Linked DNA regions of Homo sapiens: regions 2 and 3 are each linked to region 1. Evidence: promoter capture Hi-C in 16 types of primary human blood cells and fetal thymus (Javierre and others, 2016). All regions are on one chromosome and are shown on one strand. The core of a region is centred on a gene start or on the middle of the fragment in contact, and the rest is flanking DNA. Distances in the headings are between cores, read along the strand shown.

Region 1 (3,146 bases), core at 357-2,856:
TCTGTCCCTGAATCAGCCCTGGGGAAAGGAGGCAGCAATCATGGAAACCTTAAAAAAACAAAAAACAACATAATGACAGGACAACCTGGAGGCCATTATTTTGGTGGCTGCTACTTGGCCACTCCTCACATAGATTTGTTTTACTGACTTCCTGCAGCAAAAGGAGATTGGCACAGGCTCTGCTACATAATCATCATTATTATTATTATTATTATTATTATTATTATTATTATTAAGACGTAATCTTGCTCTGTTGCCCAGGCTGGAGTGCAGTGGCGTGATCTCAGCTCACTGCAACCTCTGCCGTCCGGGTTCAAGTTTTTCTCCTGCCTCAGCCTCCTGAGTAGCTGGGATTACAGTCACGCACCACCACGACCAGCTGATTTTTGTATTTTTAGTAGAGATGGGGTTTCACCACGTTGGCCAGGCTGGTTTCGAACTCCTGACCTCAAGTGATCTGCCTGCCTCAGCCTCCCAAAGTGCTGGGATTACAGGCGTGAACCACTGTGCCTGGCCTTCATCTATATTATTACCAGGAGGCAGATGTGTTCTCTTTTTCTCTGAGGTTTAGAATTATGCAAATGAAGATATGAAAACAAAAGCTCAGTGAGGTGGGGAGGATTACACTTAAGAATACAGGTAATTTTCAAAGCTCTTTAAGACACCCCTCTCAGTTTTTACTAACAGCTCTCTCTTGGCTCTTTGCCAGTCTGTTTAGAATTTGGCACCTCTTCATAACCTTTCAACCAAAGACCTGTAAGTTCATTCTAAAGCTCCTATCCTGGCCTCATTTTGCAAGTGGAGAAATCAAGGCATAAAATATGAGCTTTCAGTGTCTGTGGGCTGACCTTGAGTCTTGACCTTTATCCTGTTCTATCTTCCCTCCGCCGAAAACTCTGACCCTATTCCTCCCAGGTTCCCCCTTCATGATATTATCTGGAGGGCAATAGGACCTAGGGAGGTTCCACCCTGCGGCGGAGGGAGACACACCTGCCTAACAGCGTGGGTAGAGTGAGTGTTGAAGCAAGTCACTTAACTAGTTAGGGAGGGCGGGGTAGAAGTGGGGGCCTGCTGCTCCTAGGGAGGAGTAAAGCTGTGGCTCCTGCCTGGGTCTGGAGGTGGTGGTCAGAAGTGCTTCTGAAGAGCGGCCCAAGCCCCTTTTTGTCCCGCCACTCCACAACGAGCATCCCTCGGCTGGCCGCCTGCCCGGGAACTCTCCGGCTGGTTTTGTTTGGCCGCAGCCGTCCCGCCCATCTCGCCCGCCCCCGCCGTCCCGGTGCCTTAGTTTTTGAAGCTGCCGACCTCTCGCAGCTGGAATCGCAGACCAGGCAGGACCCTGGCAGCAGACGGCGTCCAAGAGTTTGGCGACCTCCGTCCAGCCAGGTTGGCGCCCCGCACATCGTGCCTCTCACTAGCAAAGTTTCTCCGAGGAGAAGCAGCCCCTCCAGCCTTTTCTTCATCCTGTAGAGCGAGCGCGCTCTGCTTCTGTCCCTCAACACTGCATTCGGAGACAGGGTGGTGACAATACTCCACTCCCGGGCCAGGCGGTCTTGGGGGCGGGGCTTGGGGGAATCCGAGGAGCTATCCTGAGAACCCTGGACTCGGCAAAGGTCCTGAGAGCGCGCAGGTGAGCGGGCCAGCTGATAGCTACAGCCTAGCAATAGCTAGGATACCTAGGCACTGAACTGAATCCCCTCTTCTGCCCTCCTTCTTCTGCGCCCGCTCTTCTGCCCTGGCTCAGCTCTCCGCTGACTTGAGAGGACACACTGGTCAGGACTCTTTGTGAGGAGCTGCTGAGTGTCGGTGCCCCCGACAGATCGGCTACACCCTGCCTGAGGGGCTGCGAAAGGAGCCGCCACGGAAGCCGCTGTTCTCATGACTCTTCACGTCCCTGGAGTTGGACTCTGGATGGGGCGCTGGGATGCTTGCTTTTGTCTTGTTCAAGTTTCACAGCAAGTATGTTGACGATTGGAATCGGGGCCAATCAAGAGTCAAGTTCAAAGTGGTACTCCTGGGCTTTCCATCCCAGACTCCAAGTCGAATCTGAGTCTAGAAGAGAGCGGTTTCTTGCTCTAACTAGTGAATCTCTGTTCCCAAACTGGACTTGACAGAGCTCTCCTCACCTATACTTGGACTGTAGCGGCCATAGGGTTCTCTTGGGGATGGGTGGGAGGGTGCTATGAACACAAGACCACAACATTCAGAAAGAACCTCGACAATGGACAGAGTTTATGAAATTCCTGAGGAGCCAAATGTGGATCCGGTTTCATCTCTGGAGGAAGATGTCATCCGTGGAGCCAACCCCCGATTTACTTTTCCATTTAGCATCCTTTTCTCCACCTTTTTGTACTGTGGGGAGGCTGCATCTGCTTTGTACATGGTTAGAATCTATCGAAAGAATAGTGAAACTTACTGGATGACATACACCTTTTCTTTCTTTATGTTTTCATCCATTATGGTCCAGTTGACCCTCATTTTTGTCCACAGAGATCTAGCCAAAGATAAACCGCTATCATTATTTATGCATCTAATCCTCTTGGGACCTGTTATCAGGTGAGCAACTTTTAAATCTTTTCCTTACCCCCCTAACCCCACCCCAGACTTGGGCAGAGAAAGATGAAAGATTTACAAGATGGATACTATGGCTCTAATCAATTCTCTCATTTCCTCCCACTCTCGGCTTCCCTGTCTACCATTCAGAAAACTTACCTGAAATCTTAAATGCCACCATGATGAACATGTGGTATGTACTTGTGTTCCAAAACAATGAACGATGCTATTTGGCCTGTGTAAACTAGAATGGGAACAACAAGACGTGATCACCCTGTGCATGAAGGCCATAGCTGCAGAGTGTGTAATTTTATTTAAAAAATTTTTTTTTTCTGAGACAAGGTCTTGCTCTGCCTCCCAGGCTACAGTGCAGTGGTGCGATCATGGCTCACTGCAGCCTTGATCTCCTGGGATCAAGCGAACCTCCCACCTCAGCCTCCAAGTAGCTGGGACCAAAGGAATGTGTCACCATGCCTGGTTAATTAAAAAAAAATTTTTATAGGCCGGGTGTGGTGGCTCATGCCTGTAATCCCAGCACTTTGGGAGGCTGAGGCGGGTGGATCACCTGAGGTCAGGAGTTCAAGACCAGCTGGCCA
Region 2 (3,121 bases), core at 218-2,717, 150 kb before region 1:
CAAGCCTGTGTGACCATAAAGCCTGCACTCTTTCCACTAACCCTTGCTGGCTTCTCCAGTAGAAACAGGAGAAAAGTTCATAGTCATTTGTTTGGTTTTTTAGCAATGATTCTCCCTGGAGAAGATAACACCTAAGAATTACACAAATGATTTTAAAACAAGAAAAAAAATAGTTGGCAGAAAAGCAAAAAAAAAAAAAAAAAAAAAAAGAAAGAAAGAAAAAGAAAAAAGAAATCAAATCAAAAATCTAAATTTTAAAAATTGATTTTGTAGTAAAACAAAATTGAAAATATGCATTGGGCAGTTAAACTGGTACAATAAAAGGAGGAAGACTGTGCCAGGTGTTCTCAAGAATCGGTTGTCAGTTCTGGCATCCATAAAAACCAACAGTTTTAACCATTAATGATCTTTCTATTGGGAGTATTGAGTCATGGACTTGGTTTCTCATCTCTGCTCCAACAACAGCTTACCTTTCTGGCCTTGGATATGTCATTAAACTTGTTCTGCTTTAGTTTATCCATCAGTAAAATAAAAATAACGAATACACTAAATCTACCTCACAGACATGTTCTAAAGAACAAATAATCTTAAAACAACAACAGCAGCAACAACGCTTTGAGATCTTATAAGAAATGCCACTGCAGTCAATACATGACTAACCTCCTCGATGCAGAGGAATCCACTCCTTAATGGAAAACAAAAAATCCCAGATAATCATCCCAGCTGATCTAGGGTTGGGGTTCTGAGAGACTCTGCCTCTGAGAGACAGGGGCTTCTTAGAGAGTCCCTCTAAGAGGCAAGAAATGGCTCCTGAACTGCATAATCAAGAGCCAAACAGAGAAATCTGAAGGGTGGTAACAAGCCAAGGCAATGCTACAATGACTCATTCATTCACCCAACCACTCCACAAATACATATTGAGCACCTTCTCTGTACTAGAACTGAATTTCCCTCCCTTTCCTATGGGAACGAGAATAAAGCTGGGCCAAGCCCAGGCACTATGCAGTAGGCTTTATGCCAGAGAGCAATCTCCAGTCTATGGCCCGATGCTCAATGCAGGAGAGGACCCTGGAAAAGGGCAGTCTGAAAATCCTCTTCAAACTATTGTGACGTCTACTTCTCAGTTAGATACAATCTTTCCATTCCCTCTAGATGCCCCTAGCACAGAAGTGCAGAAGTGTGCATACACACCCACACACAATGGTTCTATATTGCTGTGTTACACTATATCTATTTAAATATGTTCCTATGTATGATATGAAATCTTCATATTTGTTTCTTCTGCCTTTCATTAGGCTGCACTAGACAGCTCCATTTCTAGGAAGAAACATACTGTAAACCCATTTGTGGCTGGTCCTCCTTGTGAGCTCCTGCTAAGCTGGTAGGAAGCTTCCCGGTGACTCCATCTTAGTTGGATTGCCTGCAGAGCCTAACACTGTACTTAGGGTGCAGCTTGGGGGGGCCTCTGAAGCAGCTGACTAGGGTCTGGAGGGCAGGGAGTATACTGAAGAAAGGTAGTGTGTCCCTAAGGCTAGGGAAAGCTTACACATACCTATGATGCACACACACAAATATATAAATATATGTACATATGAAAAGTAAAGCAAGAGCATGTTCATTTATTCATAATCTAACACCAAACTGCTACCACCAAGACAGAAATATAATGGCATTTCCCCTCCACCCTGTCCCTCTGTCCCAACCTCTTCAAGCCATTTGGTGGCTTCTGCTACCCCACCCTGTCCCTCTTCTCCCAGTGCAGGCTGCCTCGGGTACTCATTTTGACCTGATTTCAATTCCATCTGGTCAAACATGCTGGGAGGAGGGGAAGGGAGAAGGAGAAGCATGTAAGGATTTGCCACTGGGGCTAGACCTAAGCCCTTGTCACCCTCCCCAACCCTAGGGTGATCCTGCGGTGAGGAAGAAATGGAAAGCTCCAGCTTAAACCCTGAGACAGAAGCCAGAGCTGCCTGCAAACATTTTCTGAGCATCTATTAATATAATTTGCCAGTCTCCATCCATTTGCAGCTCACGTTAAGGGGCCCTGGAAAGCTCTGCAGTGGGTTCAGGAGAGCTATGAATTCCTCGCAATGTGTGAGGCTGTTCCTCCCTGCCTCAGCCCTAAAAGGGCTTGCCTCTTTTCTCTTTCCCCTTCTGTTCCTCCCCTAAGCTCCTTTCTCTCTTGACCTTGAGAGCCCAATGATGTGCTCCTTCCCATTATTGGAAGTCTGGCAAAGGCGACGAGAAGCAGCTGGGGTGGGGAAAAGAAGAGGCAAAGTGACAGGGGAAGAAGGGACAGACCCGAAAGTGCTGGAAACATTCCCTGCCATCTCCTAGTACTCCACAGCATAAGAGCAAGTCCTCATCACGCCCAACTGGGGAAAGCAGCCCAGCCCCCAGGTTGCAGAGGAGATGTTTTGGCCAGTCACCTTCCGTGATTGATTCCAACTCTGCAGAGGGGAAAACCTGCAGAGGGCCTGGCTCTGGTCATCCACAGAAGGCAAGGTGGGGATTACGGACTGTTTGCGGGAGAGAAAAAGCAGACTTTGCAGATTTTGTAGATTACCCCACACACAAAACAAAATAAAACAAAACATCTAGCTCTCCCTTGAGAGAAGGGGAAGAAACAAGAGCTTAGTGACCTTTATTTGGGCCAAGAATGCTTTGTCTCAAGGATCCAGATACATACCCAGGTGGCTGGAGGAATACTATCAGCTGTCTGCCTGGGATGAGGAATACCAGTCAGCCCCTAAAAATTGCTTGTTTTAGTAGCCCATTTTTCCCAGCTCTTTTCCTCTTTCCCTTTTGTTCTGCTCTAAAATAAATAAACTCTCCGCTTGCTAAACTCTTAGCTCACAGGGAGGGAATCAGACTTGTATACTGGTTGCCCGGACTTTGGGTGTGTGCTGGAAGGAGGGAAGGGCTCCTGCCAATGACAGGTGCTACGCAGGTCTCAGCCTTCTGGTTTACTTGGGATGGGGGGTATTCGCTGCGCAACCCCTCCCCCAACTGGCATTCAGTGGCTCCAGAACAGCATAGCCCACAAAAGAAATCGCTCTTGCCCAGCTGCTCCTTCCGAGCTGCAAAGTTGTTGAGAACGGAGGGTCCAGGTGGGGATAGG
Region 3 (3,316 bases), core at 719-3,218, 180 kb before region 1:
TTGGAATTGGCTGGCAGTAATACCATTCTACACTAGTCCAATCTTTCCACTTGATCTCAGGCCTCTATGGTGTTCTCCCATCTGGTAATAGAAATGATGTCACAGAGATCACCTGAGGTCAGGAGTTCGAGACCAGCCTGGCCAACGTGGTGAAACCCCATCTCTACTAAAAATACAAAACTTAGCTGGGCATGGTGGCGGGCACCTGTAATCCCAGCTACTCAGGAGGCTGAGGCAGGAGAATCGCTTGAACCCGGGAGGCGGAGGTTGCAGTTAGCTGAGATCACACCATTGCACTCCAGCCTGGGTGACAAGAGCAAAACTCCATCTCAAAAAAAAAAAAAAAAGATGTCATAGAGACTGGCTTTGAATATATCCTATCTCAATTTCTGTTAATTAAGGCTTCAAGAATTAGAATATATCTCATCACTTTCTACACTATCATTCTGTGGAGAAGAAAGGAAGCAGTGATGATAGGTAATGAATCACAAAAATAAAAATCTCTGCTTTCCACTCTTGTGGTTTCTTGTTTTTCTTGTTTTCTTTCTCACTCCCATCCACTAACTCTTCGAAATTTAAAATAGTCTCACCACCAACACATTACATGTGCACCAAATTCAAAGGGAGAATTCAATATTAATTCTATTTTTACTTCCAAGTGACTTAATTTTTAAAGAGTCTAAAGTCCCTTTGTACCTAATTATGATGACATTTCTACCATACCTGCCTCTAAATATGCATCTCAACTTACCAAAAGAGCTGCATGTAAAGATCTAGTAGGGATGGGGACATCACAGAAATAACTATAATAAAAGGGAGAAAAGGAATTAAGGAGGCCACATTTGACCTCAGCAAATTCCAGCTTAACAGAAAAAAAAAATGAAAAGTAACAATAGAAAGCCAGAGATTATTTTTTAACTTGCTATATAAAAGTTTCCCGAGTCTGAGGCATGCATTTTGAGACACCTCAAGTCCTAGCAGACATCAAGATAACCTAATCATTAATTTCTGAGATATCAAAAGGAGGCTGGGTGCAGTGGCACGCACCTGTAGTCCCATCTACTTGGGAGTCTGAGATGGGAGGATTGCTTGAGTCCAGAAGGTCAAGGCTGCAGTGAACCATGATCATACCACTGCACTGCAGTCTGGACAACACAGCGAGACTCTGTCACGAAAAAAAAATTTCTAAAATAGAAAACATCTGTATACTCCATACATGTTGTTTTTTTGTTTTGTTTTTTTGAGATGGAGTCTCGCTCTTCACCCAGGCTTGAGTGCAGTGGCATGACCTCGGCTCACTGCAAGCTCCGCCTCCTGGGTTCACGCCATTCTCCTGCCTCAGCCTCCCAAGTAGCTGCGACTACAGGCGCCCGACACCACGCCCGGCTAATTTTTTGTATTTTTAGGAGAGACGGGGTTTCACCATGTTAGCCAGGATGGTCTCGATCTCCTGATCTCGTGATCCGCCCACCTCGGCCTCCCAAAGTGTTGGGGTTACAGGCGTGAGCCACTGCACCCGGCCCCTACTCCATATATGTTTTAAGGTGAGATGGGAGTGGGAGAATTGATCTTGACAGACATTGTTCAGTTAAACATGGATTCCTGGAAAGATATTAGAACCAAATAATCTAAAACCATCTACAAGAAAAAAGCCAATTTTATTAGGTCTAATTTAACTTTCTAGGGAAACAGAGAACTAATCAGATAAAAATAGAGAAATAAAATACTTGACAGTCATATGTTGAATTCGGTTAGTAATGTGTTGTTACTTTAAAATAAATACACACACACCCCTGCAAGTATGCTGCTAGGGTATAAACAAAGGAATCTAACATGCAACAGCCAGGAAATACTTAGTATATAAAGCATTTGGTTTTGAGAGCTGTCTTAATTTTTCTTTTTTTTTTTTTTTCCCAGAGACAGGGTCTTGCTCTGTGGCCCACACTGGAGTACAGTGGCACCATCATAGCTCAAACTCCTGGGCTCAAGTGATTCTCTTGCCTCAGACTCCCAAGTAGCTGGGACTACAGGCACATGCCACTGCACCTAGCTAATTTTTTTTTAACATTTTGTAGACAAGGTTTCGCTTTGTTGCCCAGGCTGGTCTCAAATCTGGCTTCAAGCAATCATCCTGCCTTGGCCCCTCAAAGTGCTGGGATTATAGGCATGAGCCACTATACCCAGCCTTAACTTTTTTTTAAGTAGGAAAAAAAGCAGCAATGTGGTACAGTATAAGCACTAGAATGGGAGTTTGGACATCTTTAAGCAAGTCTCTTTAACTACTCTGAGCCTCTTTTTCCTCACCTTTAAATGAGAGTGTTTAGAGTCTAAAATATCTTCCAAGTCTGAATTTAAATGAGAAAAACTTAAAAGGTTCAAGTAAATAAAATATTGACCAGGTGTTATTTCTAAGAACCTCTTCCAACCATCCCAACCACCACCAATGAATTTAGAACAGGAAAAGATATTTGCACAAAAGAAAAAGCATCTTAGCTGGGCACACTGGCTCACGCCTGTAATCCTAGCACTTAGGGAGGCCAAGGCGGGTGGATCACCTGAGGTCAGAAGTTTGAGACCAGCCTGGCCAACATGGCGAAACCCCGTCTCTACTAAAAATACAAAAATTAGCTGGGTGTGGTGGCACATGCCGATAAGCCCAACTACTCAGAAAGCTGAGGCAGGAGAATCGCTTGAACCCAGGAGGCAGAGGTTGCAGTGAGCCGAGATCATGCCATTGCATTCCAGCCTGGGTGAAAGAGTGAAACTCATCTCAAAAAAAAAAAAAGAAAGAAAGAAAGAAAATGAAGGTAATGAAGTAGACTAAGTGATCTTTTAAGATGCCTTCCAGCAACATTGTTTAAATTACTACGTATGCTTCTTAAGATAAATACTAAAAAATGGTTCTCATGTATTTGGTGACAAAAGTATGTATTTTGCATTTTATCTGTGATGATATATGGTAACTGGTTATTTTTGGCATATGCACACAGAAACTTTTGGCCCAAACACACACACAAAAAAACCCATTTTATAATCTTAACAGATTGGTCTTATGAAGAGAACAGTAAACATAAAAAACTGCAACTAATTCCAATGAACAATGTAATTCAAAGTCTAAAAGGAAGGTCGGACACAGTGGGTCACGCCTGTAATCCCAGCACTTTGGAAGGCCGAGGTGGGCGGATCACCTGAGGTCGGGAGTTCGAGACCAACCCGACCAACATGGAGAAACCCCATCTCCACTAAAAATACAAAACTAGTCAGGCGTGGTGGCGCATGCCTGTAATCCCAGCTACTCAGGAGGCTGAGGCAGGAG

Evidence for each region. Contacts are between HindIII fragments. The CHiCAGO score rates a contact against its expected background, and 5 or more counts as called.
Region 2: a fragment that was not itself captured here is called in contact with the fragment with the promoter of XKRX in region 1 in 1 of 17 cell types (naive B cells); the score reaches 5.6 in naive B cells.
Region 3: a fragment that was not itself captured here is called in contact with the fragment with the promoter of XKRX in region 1 in 1 of 17 cell types (total B cells); the score reaches 5.0 in total B cells.

The regions. Positions count from the first base shown.
Region 1 is chrX:100,927,377-100,930,522 of GRCh38, reverse strand. XKRX (XK related X-linked) reads left to right here and starts at 1,606. Exons shown (of 3, transcript NM_212559.3): 1 at 1,606-2,553. The coding sequence starts at 2,219. RefSeq lists enhancers at 960-1,009, 2,203-3,146. The HindIII fragment of the contact is 22,335 bases long and covers 1-3,146 here.
Region 2 is chrX:101,079,222-101,082,342 of GRCh38, reverse strand. All of the region lies in intron 1 of TMEM35A (transmembrane protein 35A), which reads right to left. Among named protein-coding and RNA genes, the nearest start is that of TMEM35A, 1.9 kb to the right of the region's middle. The HindIII fragment of the contact is 152 bases long and covers 1,392-1,543 here.
Region 3 is chrX:101,103,449-101,106,764 of GRCh38, reverse strand. The region is part of intron 4 of CENPI (centromere protein I); the gene reads right to left. Among named protein-coding and RNA genes, the nearest start is that of CENPI, 6.9 kb to the right of the region's middle. The HindIII fragment of the contact is 5,027 bases long and covers 1-3,316 here.